Regions from separate parts of the Homo sapiens genome. Here all the other regions are linked to region 3. Evidence: promoter capture Hi-C in human tissues and cell types (Jung and others, 2019). All regions are on one chromosome and are shown on one strand. Each heading gives the region's core, a stretch centred on a gene start or on the middle of the fragment in contact. The rest is flanking DNA. Distances are from core to core; before and after follow the strand shown. Region 1 overlaps GRHL2 (grainyhead like transcription factor 2). Region 2 holds the start of LOC105375669 (a long non-coding RNA gene). Region 3 holds the start of YWHAZ (tyrosine 3-monooxygenase/tryptophan 5-monooxygenase activation protein zeta).

Region 1 (3,108 bases), core at 129-2,628, 550 kb after region 3:
TGTATTTAAAAAAATTAAAGGTTGTATATAAAAATAGTTATTAAGTGGAGACACTTAAGAATAATACACACTTCTCTAAATAAAACGGAAAAGCCTACTTGCTGCTTGCTTGTTGCAGGTAGAATTGACCCGATCCCCTGCAGAAATCCCTGCCCTCTCCTCTCTGTCCCAGGAATGCCACGCTGCCCTTCACGCTGGCATGCTGCCTGTCGGTTCTGTGCTATTCCTTAGTGACCTGTAGATTCATTATCTGTGTCTCCACAACCTTGTCCTTTTAGATTTGCATATGTGTTAAGTCCAATCATTAAATCCAGTGATTTTTCAAAATAGCAAAAGTAGGTGTATAAGTTTCCAACATGTGTATAATTTGAAGCTGAGGAATGACTAAGAATGAAAGAAACTCAGTTTGTTCCACTCAGTGGGCTGCATGTGCCTATGGAGTTTCACTTGAAGCAAACTCTCTCGAGGCAAACCTGCTGGCCTCACCACCTCAGACCCCGCCTGAATGTTCATGGGAGAGACTTGGTGTTGGGTCCAGTTTTGAGCTTTTTTGAAGGGACAGGGAGAGCCTGGAATATGACTTCCTTTAAAAACAAAAGGTAGTTGTAGGCAAGGTCGGGTTTTTTTTTTGTATTTTCTAGAATAAAAATTTATATTTTTTTTAGAGTATAGACTTGCTTCTCCCTGGAGGGCCACACAGTGACTCATCTGACTGCTTCTGCAAGCTGGTGCATAGATCATGCCAGACCAGCTTGGGTCTGCTAGTTAAGCTGCAGGAGATTGCATCATAGGATTTACTGCACGCGTCTTTAATGGAAGTGTTGTCGCCAACGTGAACTTCTTTGCTTATCAACCTATCCAAGAAGCATCCACAGCAGGGAACAAAAAGTACCTGATGGGAACTTGCTGGGGAAACTGGCCTCCCAGAGTCACTGAAGTTGCCAACATTGCATTAGGAAAAAAAAAAAAAAAAGAGGAGGCTAAAAATACAACAACAAAAAAAAGGTGGAAATGAACTTTTGTAAAATGTGAGCAAAACCAAAGCAATCTTCGGCTGCGGAATAAACACAGAGGTGGTGAAACAGGAACTAGTAGGTATACATTTTGGCCGTGTGCTCAAAAGTGAATTTGCAATTGCCCCTTCTCTCCCACTCCCAACTGGCCCTCCCCTCCCCCATCCTTTTCTTCATATTGTATAGAAATTCTTCAAACCTCAAATACTATATCTAATATTTTTAAAAAATCATGATGTTCTTCGGATGTTAAAAGTCTAAATGGGCCGGGCGTGGTGGCTCATGCCTATAATCCCAGCACTTAGGGAGGCCGAGGCGGGTGGATCACCTTAGGTCGGGAGTTTGAGACCAGCCTGACCAACATGAAGAAACCCCATCTCTATTAAAAATACAAAATTAGCCGGATGTGGTGGTCCATGCCTGTAATCCCAGCTACTCGGGAGGCTGAGTCAGGAGAATCTCTTGAACCTGGGACGCGGAGGTTGCAGTGAGCCGAGATTGCACCACTGTACTCCAGCCTGGGCAACAAGGGTGAAACTCTGTCTCAAAAAAAAAAAAAAAAAAAACAGTGTAAATAAAGGCACCTATCCTTACGGGGCTTGTGGGAGGGTTGAGGGAAGGACTACAGTCTCCTTTTATCTTGTGTTTATCTTTAGTTTTAGCAAACATTCTATAAGGTATGTTTTGTATCATATTCAGCCACATGAAAAACACAAATTTGCATTTCGATTTTGTTCACAAAATTTGGGACACAAGTCGTTTATCACTTTTAACATCCTGAAGTTGAACTGGTGCAGCAGTAGTATCGTTATGCTTGTTAGCCTTCATAATCCTTCCTAAGCAATAAAATACCCATGTGGTCGAATCCCAGGACACGTTGAATTACAAGCTCCAAGTTTTTCCGCTGCAGCGTATCCAAGTGTGCTTGGAAAGAAGAACAAAATTAAACATGCTATTTAGAGCTTTCAGGGCTAACTAGATTTTGATGTTGTCATTGTAGCAAATAGTTCTAGAGTGTGGAAGAAGTTGAAAATGTTTTTATGATACAGAGATTTTTATTGTACTGCATATTTAATGAATTATTTTATAAATTGCTGTTGTGAAGCATTTGTGAATGACCTGCCTCCTAGCTTTCAATGCTATTGCCCAGGCTGACTTTTATTGCAACTGTTTTATGATACAGTTTTGCATTGTATGTGTTTACTTTTTAAAGAAGCATTTCCTGGGAGGTTTCTTTTTCTGGTTATGAAAATAATATATGCTTATGGGGAAAAATTGGAAAATAGAAACAAGTATCTAGAAGAAAAATCACTCATAATTCCAGCACCCTGTTAATACTTTGTCTTTTCTTACAGTTTCTAATATGTGCATGCATAGTATATCAATGTGGTTTTACAAAGAGTGTGCAAATTATGATTCTCTTTTTTACATCATTCATGCCATTCTGCATTTTCCACTTAATACTATACTATTGGTACTTTACCAATCCCTTAAGTATTCTCGTACATAGCATTTAAAGGTGAAATCTACCACCTCCTATTTTTAATATTTATGTTGTTTTGACTTTTCAGTATAATAAATCATGTTTATATGTAAAGGTTTTTATCTCCGGTTATTACTGTAGAATAGATTTCTGGAAGTATAAGAACAGGAGACATAAATATTTTTAGGTCATTGATACATAATTTGAAAATGACTCCTAGAAAGATTTTAACAATTTGTGTTCTACCAACAGTGTTTGAGGGTGTCTTTTTCTCATTGTCTCACCAGTAAATGACAATTGTAATTTGTTTATTTGCAAGGCAAAAAAAAAAAAATTGCAATTTGATAGTTAAAGAGATTAAACATTTTCTCAGATTTTTATTTTGTAATTTGTATTTCTTTTTAGTGAAGCTCTTGCTTTTACCCTGGCTACTACCTATGATTGTGTTATGTTCTGGAGGAGAGGGAACTTGGCTGAGGGGGACTTTGGGGCTGAGATCCAGCTGTGCTCCCCTCTGGCGTCTACCCAAAGTTGTACCTTCCAACATTTGTACAGTTGCACCCTATGGGCTAACAGAGGCCTGTTCTTATTTTTCATTTATTCAAAAATAAA
Region 2 (3,408 bases), core at 305-2,804, 730 kb before region 3:
GCCATGTTGGCCAGGCTAGTCTTGAACTCCTGGCCTCAAGTGGTCTGCCAACCTTGGCCTCCCAAAGTTCTGGGATTACATACAGGCTTGAGCCACCGTGCCTGGCCAGTTCTCTGCTTTTTCTTATCTTTGCTACTCTCACAGTCTTGAAATTGGAAGATTTTTTAGGGTCTTAACTGTGTTACCTTGAATAGATAGCCTCTTTTGTAAGCTCTGCTTCAAAAGTTCTCTGTGCTTATTTTTATACATGGGTGGTTTTTTTCCTTAATGGAATTTCCATTCATAAGTTCATATTCATTTTCAGGATTGTAGTTAAAGAAATAAATTTACTGGGCAGAAAGTGCTAAAAATTAATACAGCATCTCATCAGTTTTAGATCCCAAGCTTGGCTTAAGGCCATCTTGAATAGATAAATGGCACCTTGGTCATTGGAAGTCTTCTGTGAAGTGAAGGTAGTCACATGGTTGTGACTCTGCTCATAGAGTTAATATTACCTAAACATTAAACTAAGCTAAATTTAAGGCAGTGGTACAGGTGACAGATCCTGATGCCCACAGATCTATTTTCTAGTGTTGAAATATGTTTACTTGATTTTAATTTTATATTTTAAATAACATTTACTGTTTTAAAAAACCACTTACCTATTATAGAAAACTTAAGAAAAAACTAGCACAGCACAAAGACTATCATTAAAATCACTCACAATCCTAACACCTAGGCAGAGTGAAATTGGTTATTTTTTCAGAGAAGTGAAGCAGATTAGGTTTAACAGCATTTCTAGAGTAACTTCTATGATATGCCAGAAGGGCTCCCACAAGTGCAGCTGAGTATCTGTATGATGTGGTCTGAGTGGCAAATGACTCAAGAGTTCCTTCATTTGCAGTGTTTGTATGTGTACTGCGGTAGGCAGAGTGTAGGCTTTTGAGGGCTCACAGAGAAGTTTGCTGAGTGCCTCTCATGACCCAGGTGATCTAGGACTGGGAATATAGTGGTGCTCAGGACAGGCAATGCCAATTGCCTTCCTGAAGCTCACATTAGAAAGAACTGACCTGTGGGCATGTCACTCCTCATGTTTCTGTTTCTTCACCCACATAATGAACATATTAATATTTACCTGACAGGTTTGTTGTGAGATTAGATGGGGAAGTCTACAGTGACTAGCACATAGCAGATACTCTGTCAATGTTTCCTCATTGCTGAATCATTGTAGACAGGAATAGACAGCAGATTTCTAAGAGTATCGGAAAAACAGCAAGTTAAAGAAAGCAGCCCTTGCTCATGCTTTCCTGGAAAGTTAAATACTTGTTATATTAACTGTTTATAGCATGAGTTGAAAGAATAAATCCACCATCTTCAATGTGGACAGTCTGGTGCAGATGTTAGTTAGGTTATATAGAAAGGAGGCTCTTCATAGGATCTCTGCATGGAGGACTTCTTTGCAGCTTCTGTTGATTTTGTTAAAACCAAGAGTACTATAGTTTTCATTCATAAATACAGATTTGTGATTCCTTAACCAAAGGCTCTGCGCTGCCTTTTGACTTAACATATTTTCAGTTTACCATGGGATTATTGGGACATAACCATATTGTAAATCGAGGATTATATGTACAGTTTTTTTATTGTTTTACTTCAGAATATAATGAAGTACGTTAAATGCTGAAGTAGCTTTAAACACTTCAAACAAAACCAAAAAACACAACCATGAGATACATCTTTAGTGATATTGGAAACACTTCATAGACTAAAACGTGCAAGATGAAAATTCATAACTTAGAAGAAATCATTGTAGGTTTAGTTCCTTGATTCCCCTTTGGTCTGTTTTTGAAGCCCTTTTGCAGCAAGTGAATCATAATGAACTAATAAGTTTTAGAGTGCCGATTTTCAAAATGTGATGCAACTTTTATGGTTCTGTACTTTATTATTAAATACATAGGTGCAAATAAGAATTTTCATTTTAATCTGTCAACGACAATCTGTTGAAACCCTGCTGTGTGCCTTGTGCCATGCTGCTCTGTTAGGGGACTGGGGAGGCCAGGACATGCTGCCAGGGAGCTCCCGGCTCAGTGGGAAAGAGTAAATGCAGAGTGCTTTGCTACTGGTTTAAAAGAAAGGAACACAAATATGATTGCTTTCTTACTCTGGGTTTGCCTTTCTGGCATGTTGCCTGGTTCCCAAGACGAAGTCTCGGATGTGTACATATTTGAGAGTTCAGTACTGCAGTATCTATTCAGTGAAGTATAAACGAAAGAGCATTTTTCAAAACAAATGGTATGTAATATTTTTGTCTTCTTTAGGGCTCTGGAACTTCATCCATTCTCTATGAAACCTCTTCTGAGGCGGGCGATGGCCTATGAAACTCTAGAGCAGTATGGGAAAGCTTATGTGGATTATAAAACAGTGTTGCAGATAGACTGTGGACTCCAGCTAGCAAATGACAGTGTTAACAGGTAATTAATCTGAGGCAGCTACCTAAAATCTAGTTGTTTTATACTGTTTTTCCCTTCCCCTCCTTCAAGAACATGTCAAAATATAGATGTGTTATCAGTTACTTTTATCACCTGAATGATTGCCTTCTTTTATTCCATTACATCAAATGGTTCTCTCCCTTAACTTAATTTCTGACTCTCCCTTAATTAATTCTGACTTGTCCTCTAATGCCTTTGTATTTGTTTTCTGATCCATTTATTACTGTTCAATCAGTATTTTTTTTTGGTCTTAGTAACACAGGATATAACTCATATGTGCTGCTTAAATATATGTGGTGATAAGAGGGTATTTACATAGATATCATAAAATCAGTACTAGTAGCTGGGTGCGGTGGCTGATGCCTGTAATCCTAGCACTTTGGGAGGCCAAGGCGGGTGGATCACTTGAGGTCAGGAGTTCGAGACCAGCCTGGCCAACATGGCGAAACCCCATCTCAACTAAAAATACAAAAATTAGCCAGGTGTGGTGGCGGGCGCCTGTAATCCCAGCTACTCAGGAGGCTGAGGCAGGAGAATTGTTTGAACCCAGGCTGCGGAGATTGCGGTGAGCTGAGATCATACCACTGCACTCCAGCCTGGACAACGGAGCAAGATTCCAACTCCAAAAAAAAAAATTAAAATAAAATAAATAAATCAGTACTAGCTATAGAATAAGATCCAAAAATGTGGTGAAAACTGCTATGTTGAATCCTCTCCTCCCACAGGATTTGCAGGTGTTCATTGGCACCATATCTGTCAGTGGAAACATATCTCTTGTTTCTCCTGAGGAGAATGGATGTCTTCATGAGCCTGCCAGATATTTCTGTTATATGCCCTTGTAAATAGACACTTATCTAGGATGAATAGTAATTTATAATGGCGAAATAGCAAAGAATTTGGATCTAATTTATGTTATGACCTATTTACCCCCAGCGTGAGAATG
Region 3 (3,128 bases), core at 18-2,517:
GGACACACCCCGCTCTCCCACCCAGCGCCTTCCCCGCCACCGATCAGCGCCGGTGACCGTGTACAGCGTCTCTAAGGGACCGACAGCTGCAGGTGGGGGAGGGGACGAGAGCCACACCCAGCCGAGCGGGCCACCAGCGGCTATGCTCAGGCTCACCCGCCCCCAAAGCAGGATATGCGTCCCCAAACCGAGCGCAGGGACCCTCCAGTTCTAGTCCATCAAGCACGGGAGCCGACTGCGGGCTCACCACCCTGTTCTCTACCCCGACCTGGACTTGCAGCCCCCGTCCACACCTCCCCCGCCCGTTCACAAGGAGCAAAAAAAGTCAGACCCATCCCCCACCCCCACCAGGAAAATTCAAGTCCTTCCTCCCACCGCGGAGCCCAGGAAATTCAGCTCTAGGTCCCAGGCGAGCCCCACCCCAAAACCTCACCCCGCAGTGGACTCCCCTCCCGCCGGCGCGCAGCCTCGCCCCGGTCTACCTGGCGGGCGCCGCCGCGCCAGGCCTGGGCTCCGGCCCGCTCTCGGCCAGGCCTTTCCCTCGCGCTTGGGTCCCCGAGGCCCCCGGCCCCTCCCCGCCGCGCCACCGCCTCCCGGGGTGGGGGAGGGCCGGGTCCCGCCGCCGCAGCGCCCAGCGCGGAGGCTGCGCGAGGGGGAGGGAAAGGAGGGGGCGGCCGAGGGAGAGGGGAGGGGGCGGCCTCACCTGCGCCACTGCGATGCCCGCCGCCGCCGCCGCCGAGTCATTATCTCGGGCGGAAGCGAGAAGGGCGGCGAGGGAGGGGGTGGAAGCCCGCAGAGACAAGGGTGGGGATGGATCGCGGCCGGCGGCGCCCCGGCCATGCCTCGTCCACCTTCGGGAGCCGGCGACAGGGAGATCCCCAGGGATCTCGCGTGTGGGCGCCCTACCCACCCCCGGGGGCAGGACGGGGGAGCGAGCACCGATCGGCGCCGGGGCGTCGATGCGGAAGCAAGGAGCCGGAGGCGGCCGCTAGCCGCCCTCCCGAGCCCAGCGGAAGAGGAGCCGCCGCCCGTGTCCGCTGAGGAGACTCCGCCTCAGCCCGGCGCCGCCACCGCGGGGCGAGTGGGGATGAGGGGACGGAGCGAGGACGGCTCCCACGCGTTCGGAAGGCTGGCCTGGGACAGGAAGCGAGGCGCGGCGGCGGCCGGGTTCCTCACCTGTGTCCGGAGTGGGTGGTGGCGGCGGACGGACGGGCTCAGCAGTCTCTGGGCGGCGGCGGCGGCAGCAGCGGCGAGGCTGAGACTCTGTCCCTGGATCTCGCTGCTCACAGGCTACAGCCGCTCCGCAGACACGGGGTTTCCTCCAATCACCAGCCCCGGCAGCAGGGGCACCACACGCACGATGACGTCAAACGCTGCTATGGCAACCGTTGATTGGTGCCCACAGCGATCGGGGCCCCGCGTAACCGCCGCTCCCCGGCGCTCGTCCTGCCCGCCCGCGCTGGAGGGCGAGCGGAGGCGCGCGCGTCCTCGCCCGCAGCCGCCACTCCTCCCACCCCGCTCGGCTTCCAGCTCCTCTACGCTTGTCCCGAGTGCACCTAGGGCAGGAGGCTGCTTTTTTCCTTTTCCTCCCCAACGCAAATCCCCCACTCCTCGCCTTCCCTTTGGGTCCCCAACGCCCTCTCTCTCCCTCTCCCCTGCAGCCTCTGCCGGCCCACTCTTCCTCTCAGCCGGCGGGAAGGCGTTCTCTCCCTACCCCCACCTTAGCTTTCGCTCAGCCCGTCTGCGCTTGCCCCAGTCACTCCCTCTGGAAGGGGCTCCCGTTCAGCAACATCCGGGACCTTTCACATCCCCCCACCCCTCCCCGAGGCCCGGCCCGCCCCACCCTCCGTGCTTCGCGGTAGTAACTGCCCCAGGGCCGTCCCCGGGCAGGATGACAAGGGTGGCTCGGCGGCTCCGGCATTGTGATCAGGACTTGCGGGGCGGGGGCCCCGGGGCGGGGGCAGGGCGCGGTCGCACGGCAAGGGAGGGTTGTGTGTGGTGCGCTGCCCCCCGCCCCGCCCGCCGCTCCCCTTCCCCGGCTGGGCCGACCGGGGCGCGCGGCCCCTCCCGGCCTCCCTCCCGCCGCCGCGGCTTTACCTGCTGGCTCGGGGGAAGCGGTCCTAGACCTTTTATGGCTCGGAAACGGGAGTGAGGCGTCCAGCCCCTGAGTGTGGCTGAGTGATGGGGAGGCGTTCCAATCGAGAGCGCGGGATCTGCGCTCGGTGACTGCGCGAGGGGACAATGGGTGGGCGCCGAGGTGGGGGCGAGGTGGGCCGGGCCGGGCGGAGCCGGCAGGAGGTGAGGCCTGGAAGGAGGCGCGGCCGCTTTAGGGAAGCCAGAGTTCCGAGGGGAAAGGACAGCCTTCTCGGGCGGAGGGCTGGAGCTGGTCCTGGCAGCCTTGACCCGGAGACAGGCAGTCAGGCGTGACCGCACGGACCCGTTTCTCGTAGGCTAGGTTTTCCTACCCAAATAAAGCTTTCACGTGAAGACCTCATACTGCACATGACGATCATTACCTTTTTATCTCCTAGAAGCAAGGTTTGAGGGACGTCGTAGTCCCCAGGGTTCCAGCTGGCGGTGGGAGTGGGCCACAGGCCGGGTGATGAGCCGGGACGGGAGCCCGGAAGAAGGGGAAGGAGAAAGGCGGAAATTGCAGGTGCCTGAACCGGTAGGGCCTCCGCCCAGTTGACTTCAGGAAGTTCAGAGAGAAACATTCACAGTGTGAATGATCTCTGCCCCTTCCCTCTTTAAATGTGTTCGGGCTAAGAAAAGATTAGTGCTTGGATGACCTGCAAAACCACTTGCAACAGCCATGGAGAGTGTACGGTTAGCAATGAGAGAGCTTGGAACTCTTCATTTTACTCTTGTGTAAACTCCCCATTGATTCTTCCAACGTATCTTTATTGAGCTGACCAGAGCCTCCGTTTAGCCTCATGTTCTCTACAGAATTTAGTTTCTCAGTAGTAGACACGAAATGATTGAGTCCTCGCTCTTCCAGTACATTGTCTTTCCTACATAATACAGTGGACCACAAGGCTGCTCTACAAATTACTTTTTGCCTGACATGACAGCTGGCATTTAGATAGTACAGACCAGAAAGAGGGTTTCCAGTGACCAGTTATATTTTA

What was found. Contacts are between HindIII fragments. The study calls those that stand out against the background at their distance.
Region 1: a contact is called between a fragment that was not itself captured here and the fragment with the promoter of YWHAZ in region 3, in 1 of the 25 tissues and cell types used here (mesendoderm cells).
Region 2: a fragment that was not itself captured here is called in contact with the fragment with the promoter of YWHAZ in region 3 in 1 of the 25 tissues and cell types used here (lymphoblastoid cells).

Annotation. Positions count from the first base shown.
Region 1 is chr8:101,504,019-101,507,126 of GRCh38, forward strand. All of the region lies in intron 1 of GRHL2 (grainyhead like transcription factor 2), which reads left to right. Among named protein-coding and RNA genes, the nearest start is that of GRHL2-DT, 13 kb to the left of the region's middle. The HindIII fragment of the contact is 8,369 bases long and covers 1-3,108 here.
Region 2 is chr8:100,217,985-100,221,392 of GRCh38, forward strand. It overlaps SPAG1 (sperm associated antigen 1), which reads left to right. Exons shown (of 19, transcript NM_003114.5): 13 at 2,295-2,447. It overlaps LOC105375669 (a long non-coding RNA gene), which reads right to left and starts at 2,299. Exons shown (of 3, transcript XR_928450.3): 1 at 1,115-2,299. The HindIII fragment of the contact is 4,864 bases long and covers 1-3,408 here.
Region 3 is chr8:100,950,753-100,953,880 of GRCh38, forward strand. It overlaps YWHAZ (tyrosine 3-monooxygenase/tryptophan 5-monooxygenase activation protein zeta), which reads right to left and starts at 1,268. Exons shown (of 6, transcript NM_145690.3): 1 at 1,177-1,268. RefSeq lists enhancers at 1-506, 133-212, 1,365-2,223, 2,503-2,612, 2,623-2,752 and silencers at 1-12, 403-1,172, 1,403-1,662, 1,683-2,362. The HindIII fragment of the contact is 8,101 bases long and covers 1-3,128 here.